Regions from separate parts of the Homo sapiens genome. Here region 1 is linked to region 2. The links are contacts of gene promoters, found by promoter capture Hi-C in blood cells and fetal thymus (Javierre and others, 2016). All regions are on one chromosome and are shown on one strand. Each heading gives the region's core, a stretch centred on a gene start or on the middle of the fragment in contact. The rest is flanking DNA. Distances are from core to core; before and after follow the strand shown.

Region 1 (6,264 bases), core at 2,165-4,664, 95 kb before region 2:
CGTATATAGCAAAAGAGACTTTGCAGCTGTGAAGTGCTTGAAATGGGGAGATGATCCTGGATTACCTGGGTGGACACTAAATACAAGCAGAAGTGTTCTTATGAGAGGGAGACAGAACTCAGACTCCACAGAAGAGGAGAAGATGATGTGGAGCTGGAACAGAGGGAGATTTGCAGATGCTGGCCTTGGAGATGGAGGAAGGGGCCATCAGCCAAGGAGTGCAGCTCTAGAAGCTGGAAAAGGCAAGAAATGCATTCTCCCCTAAAGCCTCCAGGGATGCACAGCCTTGCCAACACTTTGGTTTTAGCCAGTGGACCCATTTAGGCTCTTGACTTGCAGAACTGTAAGAAAATAAATGTGTGTTGCTTTAAGCTACCAAATTTGTGATTCTTTGTATGACACATAGGGAACTAATATACCTCCCTTCCTTCCCCAGTACAACCAGCTATGACCCTTCCTCTGTGCATACATAGCATCAACAGCATACTTTCACCATATTGTACTAATTGCACATTTCTTATTTCCTCATTAGGTCATATGCGCCTGAAGGCAGGGACCATGTCTTGTTCCTTTTTCTTTTTTTTTTTTTTTGTGACAGAGTTTTGCTTTTGTTGCCCAGGCCGGAGTGCAATGGTGTGATCTTGGCTCACCGCAACCTCTGCCTCCCGGGTTCAAGCGATTCTCCTGTCTCAGCCTCCCGAGTAGCTGGGATTACAGGCATGCGCCACCACACCTGGCTAATTTTGTATTTTTTTAGTAGAGATGGGGTTTCTCCATGTTGGTCAGGCTGGTCTCGAACTCCTGACCTCAGGTGATCCACCCGCCTCGACCTCCCAAAGTGCTGGGATTATAGGCGTGAGCCACCGCACCCGGCCCTGTTCCTCTTTATCTCCCTGGCACCTAGCCAGATGTAACAAGCACCTCATAAATATTTTGCAAGTGAAACTGCCCCACAGTGTGAAAGGCAGGGCAAGAGGCATGTTAATGGGGAGCAATCTACTTTCAGTTCAAGAAGTTACCCTTTCTATGATCATAATGTTCATTGCTCCAGGATGAGCAAAACCCATGAGAGCAGAACAAGTTGTACAGAGCACAGAGCCCTCAAATTGCAACCGGCCGGTGTGTAGCCCTCTCTGATGGAAAGAACAAACTGTCCCAGAGTAAGAGGACTATTGAAATGCATTTCGGAAAGTCATTTTATAGAGAGCAATATGCTTGGGGTAGCATTGGGATATCACTGATACAGTCGATGTCAACTGTGATTTTTGGGAAATTGATAGACACACGCTGAAATTTTTGTGCAAATAGTAGTTAGGACTTCGATGCAAGGCAGCGACACCTCCGCACAGATGCAATAAGGAGCAGGCAGACAAGTATCAGCAGAGCTTGGAAAGAGCAGGGAAAGGATTTTGGTTGAGAAGAAAACTGTTCTCTTAGCCATAATCACTAAGCGTTTCCAGCTGCTTTCTAGGCCCCACTGCCTGCTAGCTGTAGTTAGATATGTGAACTTCTGCTTGCTTCCTCTATAGTAAAAACTCTATTAATTGTAATTATGTAATGTGATGTAGTGATCGGTTGTGATCTACTCATCTTTTGTTGCCTTTGCAAACTTCAGCATTAATGAACACCCTGAGATGTTACTCTAGAAGCATCTGACTTGGAGGATCCTGATTAACGGTTGCCATCAGGAATCTGGTGATCACAGTGAGTAAAATGAAGTAAGGAACTCCACTTCCAGAAAGCTGCTTTGACAAGGCTCCCCTCTGCCTGGGTGGGCCACACATCACCGATGTATAACCCAGAAGAGCTGGATAATTCTCATCTGTGACCTGACCCACATCATCATTTACTCTGTTCAAAGACAAACATGGAAATGATGGAAAAATTTGGAACCTCCTAAAATTGCCCAGACTGTGAAAACTCTGGTCTTAAAAACATGAAAGAAAAAAGCAACATGAATCAGCAAAGCTGATTGCCTTGTCGTGGCAATAAACAGCCCCACAAATTGGTGTCTGTAAAACTGGTGTTGGTTCCTCCTCTCGTCATGTGGCCCAGCCTTGCCTGCCATCCACCACTTCTCTGGTTAACACCAAATCCAAGCGTACCCACTCCAGGAAGTTTACTCCCATCATGTCAGTTAAGGCCATAAAAATCAATTGCAGAAGCAAGGCTGAGAGGAATGCCTCTTGCTGCACAGATTTTTAAAAGTAATTATTCAAATAGATGTGGAAAACCAGTGATAAAAGAAAAACTTTAGCTGAATTAAATTTAAAGCAGTTTAATTGAGCAATGAATGAGTCATGAATCGGGCAGCCCCCAGAATCACAGCAGATTCACAGAGACTCCAGCGCAGCCACATAGTGGAAGAAGATTTATGGACAAAAAAAGGGAAAGGACGTATAGAAATTGGCAGTGAGGTACAGAAACAGCTGGATTGGTTACAGGTTGGCATTTGCCTTATTTGAACACAGTCTGAACACTTAGCAGTGTATGAGTAGTTGAAGTGCGGCCACTGGGATGGGCCAAGACTCAGTTATTGTTAAGGTGCACACGCCTAAGTTAGGTTTTCATTCTTGTCTGATTATTAAGCTAGGTTACAGTTCATCCACAAGGACTCAAATATAGAAGTACAGAGTCCTGGCCAGGCGCGGTGACTCACACCTGTAATCCCGCACTTTGGTAGGGCGAGGCGGGTGGATCACCTAAGGTCAGGAGTTCAAGACCAGCCTGACCAACATGGTGAAACCCAGTCTCTACTAAATACAAAAAATTAGCCAGTCATGGTGGCTCATGCTTGTAATCCCATTGGGAGGCTGAGGCAGGAGAATCACTTGAACCCGGGAGACAGAGGTTGCAGTGAGCCAAGATCACGCCATTGCACTCCAGCCTAGGCAACAAGAGCGAAACCGTCTCAAAAAAAAAAAAAAAAAATGGAGAAATACAGAGTCCTTCTCAGGCCATATTTGGCTTGCTTTAACACCAGGAAGAGAATGATGCTAATCATTTCATTAAGAGTTCATGTTTCCTCAGACAACCTACAGAATGGGAGAAAATATTCACAAACTACAGATTCAACGAAGGTCTGGTATCCAGAATCTATAAGGCCCTTCGGTAGTTTAACAAGCAAAAAACAACCCCATTAAAAAGTGGGCAGGCCAGGCACAGTAACTCATGCCTGTAACCCAGCACTTTGGGAGGCTGAGGCAGGATGATTGCTTGACCCAGAAGTTTGAGATCAACCTGGGAAATATAGGGAGACTCCACTCTTACAAAAAAAAATTAAAAATTAGCCAGATATATAGCCACCTATAGTTCCAGCTACTTAGGAGGCTGAGATGGGAAAATTGCTTGAGCCTGGGAGGTCGAAGCTATGGTGAGCCATGATCATGCCACTGCACTCCAGCCTGGGCAACAGAGTGAGACCTTGCCTCAAAAAAAAAGTGGGTGAAAGACATGAAAAGACACTCTCAAAATAAGACAAAGAAGCAGCCAACAAACATGAAAAAATATTCAACATCACTAATCATCAGAGAAATGCAAGTCAAAACCACTATGAAATACCATCTCATACCAGTCAAAATGGCTATCAGAATGGCTGTTACTAAAAAGTCAAAAAATTACAGATTTTTGTGAGGATACAGAGAAAATGGAACGCATATACACTGTTGGTGGGAATGTAAATTAGTTCAGCTCCTGTGAAAAGCATTTTGGAGATTTCTCAAAGAACTAAGAACTACCATTCTATCCAGCAATCCCATTACTGGGTATATACTCCTCCCCAAAATAAATTGTCCTACCATAAAGACACATGCATTTGTACATTCATTGCAGCACTATTCACAACAGCAAAGACATAGAATCAACCTAGGTGCCCATTAATGGTGGTCTGGATAAAGAAAATGTGGTACATATACACCATGGAATACTATGCAGCCATAAAAAAGAGCGAGACCATGTCCTTTGCAGAAACATAGATACAGCTGGAGGCCGTTATCCGAAGTGAATTAATGCAGGAACAGAAAACCAGATACTACACGTTCTCACTTATAAGTGTGAGCTAAACATTGGGTACACATGGACGTACAGACGGCAATGATAGATACTGAGATCCAATAGAGCAGGAATGGGGAGAAAGGGTACAAACGCTGAAAAACTACCTATTGTGTATTATGCTTACTACCTGGGTGACTGGATCAGTCACACCCCAACTCTCAGCATCACACAATATACGCAGGTAACACATCTGCACATGTACCTCCTGAATCTAAAATAAAAGTGGAAAAAAAATGTTTTTTGAGACAGAGTCTCGCTCTGTCGGCCAGGCTGGAGCGCAGTGGTGTGATCTCAGCTCACTGCAACCTCTGCCTCCCGGATTCAAGTGATTCTCCTGCCTCAGCCTCCCAAGTAGCTGGGATTACAGGCGCCCATCACCACGCCTGGCTAAGTTTTTGTATTTTTAGTAGAGATGGCGTTTCACTGTGTTAGCCAGAATGGTCTTGATCTCCTGATGTCATGATCTGCCCACCTCGGCCTCCCAAAGTGCTGGGATTACAGGTGTGAGCCACTGCGCCCGGCCAAAAGTTGAAGTTTTTTAAAAAAGACTTCACATTCCCAAGTAGGGAACATGACTTGATGAGCTCTCTAAAGTGCCTAACACGCCATAGGCACTCAACAAAAATCTAATTAAAATATCTAGACATTGAAGGGAAAATTCATTTTTTTTTAGACATAAGAGAACACAGCTGTGTTTGTGGTCTGTTGACTGTCTCAAGTTATTTTGAAAGCATTTTGTTTTGGTAACAAACTTGGCAGGTTCTCTTTCCCCTCGTCTTTATATCCATGTGTATTTAAAGGAGAATTTAATCCATATGTTCCTGATTCAATTATACTTGACTCATCCCAGTATTGCTTTGTGCGAGTGATTTGAACGCCAAGAATTTTGCAAATTTCCTAACAAACTCTGAAGTTTTGTTTTTTTGTTTTGTTTTCCAAGAACTAAGAAATTTGGTTTTGTTCACTGAACATTCTGAGAGTTGTTTTAAGGAAGCACGTAGACTTTCACTTATCACTGTGTTAGTATTTAGTTACAACTTGGGATGATGAGTTGTGAAAATGATGACATGAATATAGCTGCATTAAATGTTGATTATTGGCTGGGTGTGGTGGCTCATGCCTGTAATCCCAGCACTTTGGGAGGCCAAGTCAAGTGGATCACCTGAGGCCGGGAGTTTGAGACTAGCCTGGCAAACAAGATGAAACCCCGTCTCTACTAAAAATTCAAAAAATTAGCCAGGCATGGTGGCACACGCCTGTAGTCCCAGCTACTCGAGAAGCTGAGGCAGGAGAATCGCTGGAACCTGGGAGGTGGAGGTTGCAGTGAGCTGAGATCGTGCCACTGAACTCCAGCCTGGGTGACAGAACGCGACAATGTCTCAGAAAAAAAAAAAATGTTGGTTATTTAGTATTCCTATTACATAACTGTTCAAAATGAAATTGACCCCGAAATTAGATCATCGTGGGAATTATTAAACTCTTACAAGCTCTCAACTTGGTTCAAATCAATTGAAAATATCGAGCATCAATCAAGTGCAAGTCACACTGCTCTCATAGCAGACGAATTCTGGAATGTCTGCCTCATTCCCAAATTAAATGCCCTCTGCCACTCCACCTACCCCCCACAATACACAAGGGGGCTTCTGGCATCCTGGTTGATTTTTTGACTAAGTGGGCACTTAACTCAAATGAGGCTTGCCAGAATCACCTGTTGATAATTTAAATTGGGAAAATAGAGAAAGAGAGAGAGGCAGGGAAGGAGAAGTAGTGGAGGAGAAGAAGGAAAAGAAGGAAGAGGAGGAGGAGAAGACAGTGGAAGATAAAAAGAAAAAGAGATTAGTTTGTTTATGTGACTTGTAGCTGTACCATATAAATGTGAGAGCAAAGAGTGGGCATTTTCTGCCATAAAGTGTGTGGCCAGAGTAAGTCATAAGCCAGCACGCAAAGACAGAATGAACCAGAAAAATCAATGCATATATTTAATGCATTATTTTTCTCCAAAATCTGTTATAATCAATGCACTTTAGAATGTGAGAAATTCAACTGGACGTGGTGGCTCACACCTGTAATCCCAGCACTTTGGGAGGTGGAGGTGGGCAGATCACTTGAGGTCAGGAGTTCGAGACCAGCCTGGCCAACATGGTGAAACCCTGTCTTTACTAAAAATACAAAAGTTAGCCAAGCGTGTTGGTGCACACCTATAACCCCAGG
Region 2 (5,891 bases), core at 2,270-4,769:
TAGAACTCCTGGCCTCAAGCAATCCTCCCACCTCAGCCTCCCGAGTAGCTAGGACTACAGCTGCACACCACCAAACCTGGCTAATTTTTAAATTTTTTGTAAAGATGTCTTGCTATGTTGCTCAGGCTGGTGTTGATTTCCTGGCCTCAAGTAATCTTTCCACCTTGGCCTCCAAAGTTGTTGAGATTATGGGCATGGGCTACTGTATGCAGCCTCTTCTGTCTATCTAATGAATTTCTGTCCTCTATTAGGGTGAAGAGATAGCTTTTCAGTGGCTTTGAAGCATTGTGCCAAATATTTCAAAGATCACATTTTAAAATCTACTTTTTGATTTATTTAGTTGCTGCAAATTTTGACTTATCTGTCACTAATCAGCTGGATGTACTGAGATACTTTGACATTTCCTAATGTCTGGTGCTTTCTCTTTCTGGCCCTCCATAGTGAGGGCTGGATCTCTTCCCTTATAGGTATCTGCTAATGCTGGAGGCTCAACTGATAAAGTAAAGATAGCCATCCCAAGAAGCAGGCGGAAAGGCTGGGGCTAATAGAACAGATCTCTACTCCAGGGGCTTCAATTCTGCCCTAGTTCTGGTCAAATAGGATTAATACTGCTCACCGTTACTATCCTAAAAGGGCTGTCATGGTTGAAAGTGGGCATTTACTATTTTCAGTGTCTTTTGTTGCTGGAATAAAGGAGATGATAATATGAAACAAAAATCAGGTTGCTTCTCCTCATATTTTGCTCAGCTCCCAAGCATTCAGAATGTCGTTACTAATTAGACATTTGTTTCAACATTCTGGGGCCATCCAGGCTAGGCAATCTTGTGATGTGGGGAAAGTTGACTGGTTATGCAATGGCTTTGCATTAGATCCCCTGCTCCCTTGCAGGCGCTGAATGCTCTTCTGTTGTTCTCTGGATCTAGAACCCTGTCCCTTTTCTCTGGGATGGCTCCTACTGATGTTTCAGCTTATTCCTCATTTGCTGCAGGACAGTCTCCTTGGCCCCATAGTACTCTTGATTTCCCCATCACCTGTGCAGTAATAGTTTCTCTATAGATCCACCAGTCTTGTCTTATTCATTGTTATATCCACAGATCTAACCTATTTCTAGTAAACAGTAGGTTCTTCCTAGATCCATTCCTGATGATTGGCTTAATGAATGAATGCTCATTTTACTGGTGACTCTGAAAAAGGAAAAAAAAAAATAATGATTTTACTCCACTATCAGCAACTCGATGTTGCCCGTCAGGAATCCTTGTAACAAAATACAAAGTTACCATTGCCTACGAGGTCCTCACCTCCTTCTCCAACCTGTCTAGTAGCACTCTCCTTATGCACCATGATACCCATGCTGGCTTTCTCTCTGTTCCTGCTATACATCACTTTTCTTCCTACTTCAAGTCCTTTGTTCTTGCTATTTTATCTGCCCTGGAGTTTTGCTAAGTTGGTGTTTTCTTATTTAGGTGGTGCCTCAAATCTTAGAGCATTTCTCTTAGATCATTTCTCCTTAAAGCATTTTTCTCCTTTCCCAAAATTAAGTGTGTCTCCCATCCCTCTGGTCACTGTTTTCTTCTTTGCCCTGATCCCGGTCTGGAAGTTTATCTTTTTATTGGATCATTGTCCATCTTCTGATAAAAACAGCTGCAAGTCTGTCTTGTTCAAGGCTATACTCTGAGTGCTTAGTAGAAAGCCTCGTTCATTGCAGTATCTAGTATTTGATGATTAATATTGATTACGTTTGATGAGTAAATGAATAAAAGAATAATCTTAGACATACATTATTTAATCCCAGTGAAAGAATGTTAGTGATGGAATTTCAGGTGTTATTGTAGAAGAAACTTTTGAAGGGTATTCCCTACAGTTTGTTCATACTAGGCTAAGTTCCTCTTCTTTTCCTTACACAATGTAAAAATATTAGATCTCAAAACTATTTGCTCAAAGTACTTACTTTAGGACACGTATTTTTAGACTACAGTTTAGAATTACAGTTATTATTAGAAAGGTTTGGTAAAAACTCTTTTTGTTAGGCAATAAGGTTATTCTGTCCTCCAAAGACCTTTACTTTATTCTCAGGAAGTAAGAGAGAAAAAAGAATTTCTTGTCTTCTTTCTATCAGGTGTTTTGCCCTTACTTCTCTTTAAGTTTATGTTTACCTTAACATTCCTTTCCTTCCTCAGGTTTGCTTTTTGTCTATCTCCATTTTTCACTATTACGTAATTCACGGAGTTGCTGGGGGGAAGTGCTTAATTTCAAATAGCCTGTTTTAGAACTTTGCGAGAATGACAAGAACAAACAGAATGTTAAGGCAGCTAGAGAGAGTTAAGTGAGAGTGGTCCCTAGGTGAGAAATGCTTCTTGCCTTCTAGGCTGACACCAGTTCTGGGGGATGTGTTCTGAGAGCTCATATTAACTGCAGGTCATTGATCCTTATCTCAATCCCCTTCCTCTCCCTTCAGCTTTCCATTCAAAGTCTCTATCACATCTTGAAGTGTTGTCACATTATTTTTTTTCTGATGATTCCCTCCATCAGCTGAGCTTTCCAATTTATATTACCTGATTTTTTTTTGTCTTCTGCTTTTTACTACCCCTTTTTCTAAAGCTTTATTGATTGTGTACTTTGGATTCTAATTCTTCCTATAAGAGTCTTCCTGTAATTCTGTTTGCAGTGTAGTGCTGTCCACATTATGTGTTGGTTACATGATAGGAAGGAGTATGGGGGCACCTCGGTCACATATGTAAAGTTCTTTAAGAGAGCTGAAGGGCGCTGATACCAGTTCATGTTTTTTCGGGGTAGCCCTCAGATATTAAGCATGTTTACTGTATTTTCTTCTATTGTGAAAGAATCAGTTCTCTGGATTTCCTTAAAGTTTGTCTTTACCATTCTCCGCACCCTACTCATTTTTCTATTTAAGAATTTTTTTTTCTAATCATGTAGTACATGTTCAATATGGAACACAAAAAGGTAATAAGAAAAAGTCACCTACAGTGTCGCCAAAGGTGAAAACACCTTATGTCTTTTTTCGTGCATAACAATATCCCTCTCAATCTTATGCAGCATTTTTAAACCTAGGAGACTTGTCTGAATCCAAAGGAAGTTAAAGATTACGTTATTCACCAAGTTCATACTGAAATCAGAGAATCGCAGCGGCTTAAGAAAACTCGCATCTGGCGAATGAACCTGCGTATCCGGGGTTCTCCTCAGGGAGGTTGCTCGTCCATGAAACACACTCCAGTCTGCAGCCACCTGGGAGTGGGAACCAAGGGCGAGCGAACCGGGCGGGCAGGGGTGGAACTTGCGGGGACTGCGGGTATGAGGAGGAGCTACAGAGCTGTCACCAATCAGAGCCCAGCTTTGTTTTCTCTTGCCGACCAATGAGGGAGTTCTGCTGGAGAGGCGTCTTCAAGTCTGAGACGCCTATCGCCTTCGCAGCCTATCAGCAGGCCCCTCTTACCCGCGGGCGGTGCAGCCCCGCCCCGCCCCTCCAACCGCGGTCCCGCCCCTCCGAGGGTGGGGGCCGTGTTGGTTACTAGCCGGGCTGGAGGCGGGGGCCGGGCTCCCACTGGGCTCGTGCGTTCTGCGCCCGCCGCGGCGGTGCCGAGCCCGCTGGCTCCCGATTGTCCTCTGCGGCGGTGGCGGTCGCTGCCTCCTTGCCTCCGGGCCCGGGGCTGCAGGGGCCAGAGCGAGTGCGCCTCCTGCCCGCGGACCGCGGCAGCCCAGAGCAGGTAATGGGGCGCCTCTGGGGAGCGCCTGTCGGAGCCCAGGGCTAGGCTCGGGCGGTGGGGTCGGCCCCCGAAGCTGCTCCCTGCGCCGGCGACCGGGCCGAGCGGTGCCGCGGTCCTCCGGAGCCTCCTGCCGGCCTCTAGGCGCCTCAGCCTGGGAGCCCGCGGCGGGCACCTTGTGAGGAGGTGGGGGCGGGGCCGGGGCAGGGGCGGGGCCGCCTCGGGCGGGACCCTGAGGACCCCTGGAGACCCCTGTTGACGCGCGGGACTCCGGGCGGGGGCGGCGGCGGGGCAGACCCAGAGCGGGGAGAACCGACAGGTGGAGGAAAAACTGCGGAGTTGAGTCAGAGTCCGGCTCCCCGGGGAAAAGAACCGACTGAAAGGGAGCGATAAGCTGGCTGGCTTCTTTTTTTTCTTTCCCTAAGCCAGAAAGGCGTCTTCACTTGGGTCGTGTTAATTACATGTTTTCTGAGAACAGGCGTTTGGCCGTGTAATCTACACGATAGCATTATTTATTTACTTATTTGCTATTTAAAAAATTAAAAGCAGCATTTAGCGTGAATCTATTTGGGGGCTTTTTCTTAAGTGACAGGTAGACCCAGCCGAGTAACTCAGCTTTGTCTGGGCTGAAGTGGGGAGCGGTGAGGTAGGAATGAGGGGGAGGAGTGTTCGTGAGGAATGCCTGTGCAGGTTTGAAAGGATTGTGGGGGTGGGACCTTGTTTCTGTCACTGTGCCATGGGTGGGAGTAGAATTGTGATTTTTTTCTTTTTCTAATTTTTAAAAGCAATATTCACATTTAAAAAAGGGGGGGCTCTCTAAAAACAGTCTCTGTACTCGAGGCTTTGGGGATGCACCTGCTAGTCAGGCAGTAATAGTTTGCAGGTAAATCCTGGGCTATTAATTACGTAATTTGATTTACTTATAAAGAAGTATCTTGAATTGTTGCTGCCTTTCCTTTGACTTGCTCAATATATTGCTTGTTTACAAGTGAATTGATGAAGGTCACTGAGTTTTAGCGGTAATGTCACAGCGATGGCCCTTGGAGAGTTTTCTATGCTCAGGTTCACTCTGGTTCTATAAAAACAGTATTTCCATTTAATCGTGAAGCTCATAGCACTCTATCAATTATATAGTATGCCATCCTCCTACTCTTCTGAGGCAGGCTGTGCATAGCATGTCCATTTTACAGGTATGTCAACTGAAAGCCCTAGAAATGAAAGGAATCCTGCCCCACTTTACTCCTACTTTATTTTATACCTATAATGGATTTAATCCAAAATCTGGGTAAGATTCCCGCCATCAAGCCAACTTCTGCATACCAATTTGATCCCGTATACACAGGTCAGAGGTGGAGATGGTTATTTTCAAGTAAAGAAATATTATCTGCGAGGTTTTTCTTTCCATTCAGGTTGCTTAGCTAGTTTGAATTTCAGGTGAAAGGTAATTTTCCACACAGGCAAAACAAACAAAAGTTAGGAATGCTGTGTGAAAATCTCTATTTTAAATTTTGGGAAGCTTTCCAAATTAGAGAACCTTATTTGTGTTTGCATCTCTAGCTCAGCATTGAATTTCGGTACCTTTTTTTGAATTGAATAGAAATAATTGATATGCAGAAGGAAAATACTAATGAAGTGTAATGCATTTTGATCATGACTTATGACTTTGTTTCGGGAAGTGTTTACTGTAAATTTATAGACGGATTGAAGAATAATTTCTTAATTAGAATAACTTGACCAAAGGAGTTTGGGCATTAGTGTGGGACAGGCTGAAATGGGTAGTTGGGAGTAGCCGCTTGTATGATGTTAAGGCTTAGGGAATTCTAGAGAATCGTTAGGTTTTGTTAAATTTACTAGTTATCAGGAACATGAAAATGTCTTATGGATTACTGAATGGAACTCTTTTTTTTTTTTTTTCTGAGGTGGAGTCTCACTCTGTTGTCCAGGCTGGAGTGCTGTGGCTCACTGTGATCTCTGCCTCCCTGGTTCAAGTGATTCTCCTGCCTCAGCCTCTTGAGTAGCTGGGACTACAGGCGCATGCCACCACGCCCAGCTATTTTTTTTTTTTTAATATTTTTGTAGAGATGGGGTTTCACTATGTTGGCCAGGCTGGTCTCGAACTCCTGACCTCAAGTGATCTGCCTGCCTTGGCCTCCCAAAGTGCTGGGATTACAG

The links. The method cuts DNA at HindIII sites, captures the fragments that hold promoters and counts their contacts. A CHiCAGO score of 5 or more calls a contact.
Region 1: a fragment that was not itself captured here is called in contact with the fragment with the promoter of MPP7 in region 2 in 1 of 17 cell types (monocytes); the score reaches 5.4 in monocytes.

What each region holds. Positions count from the first base shown.
Region 1 is chr10:28,395,102-28,401,365 of GRCh38, reverse strand. No RefSeq gene overlaps it. Among named protein-coding and RNA genes, the nearest start is that of MPP7-DT, 95 kb to the right of the region's middle. The HindIII fragment of the contact is 7,853 bases long and covers 1-6,264 here.
Region 2 is chr10:28,300,692-28,306,582 of GRCh38, reverse strand. It overlaps MPP7 (MAGUK p55 scaffold protein 7), which reads left to right and starts at 3,519. Exons shown (of 17, transcript NM_001318170.2): 1 at 3,519-3,722. MPP7-DT (MPP7 divergent transcript) reads right to left here and starts at 3,414. Exons shown (of 2, transcript XR_930772.3): 1 at 2,154-3,414; 2 at 312-1,184. RefSeq lists a silencer at 3,333-3,972. The HindIII fragment of the contact is 2,637 bases long and covers 2,601-5,237 here.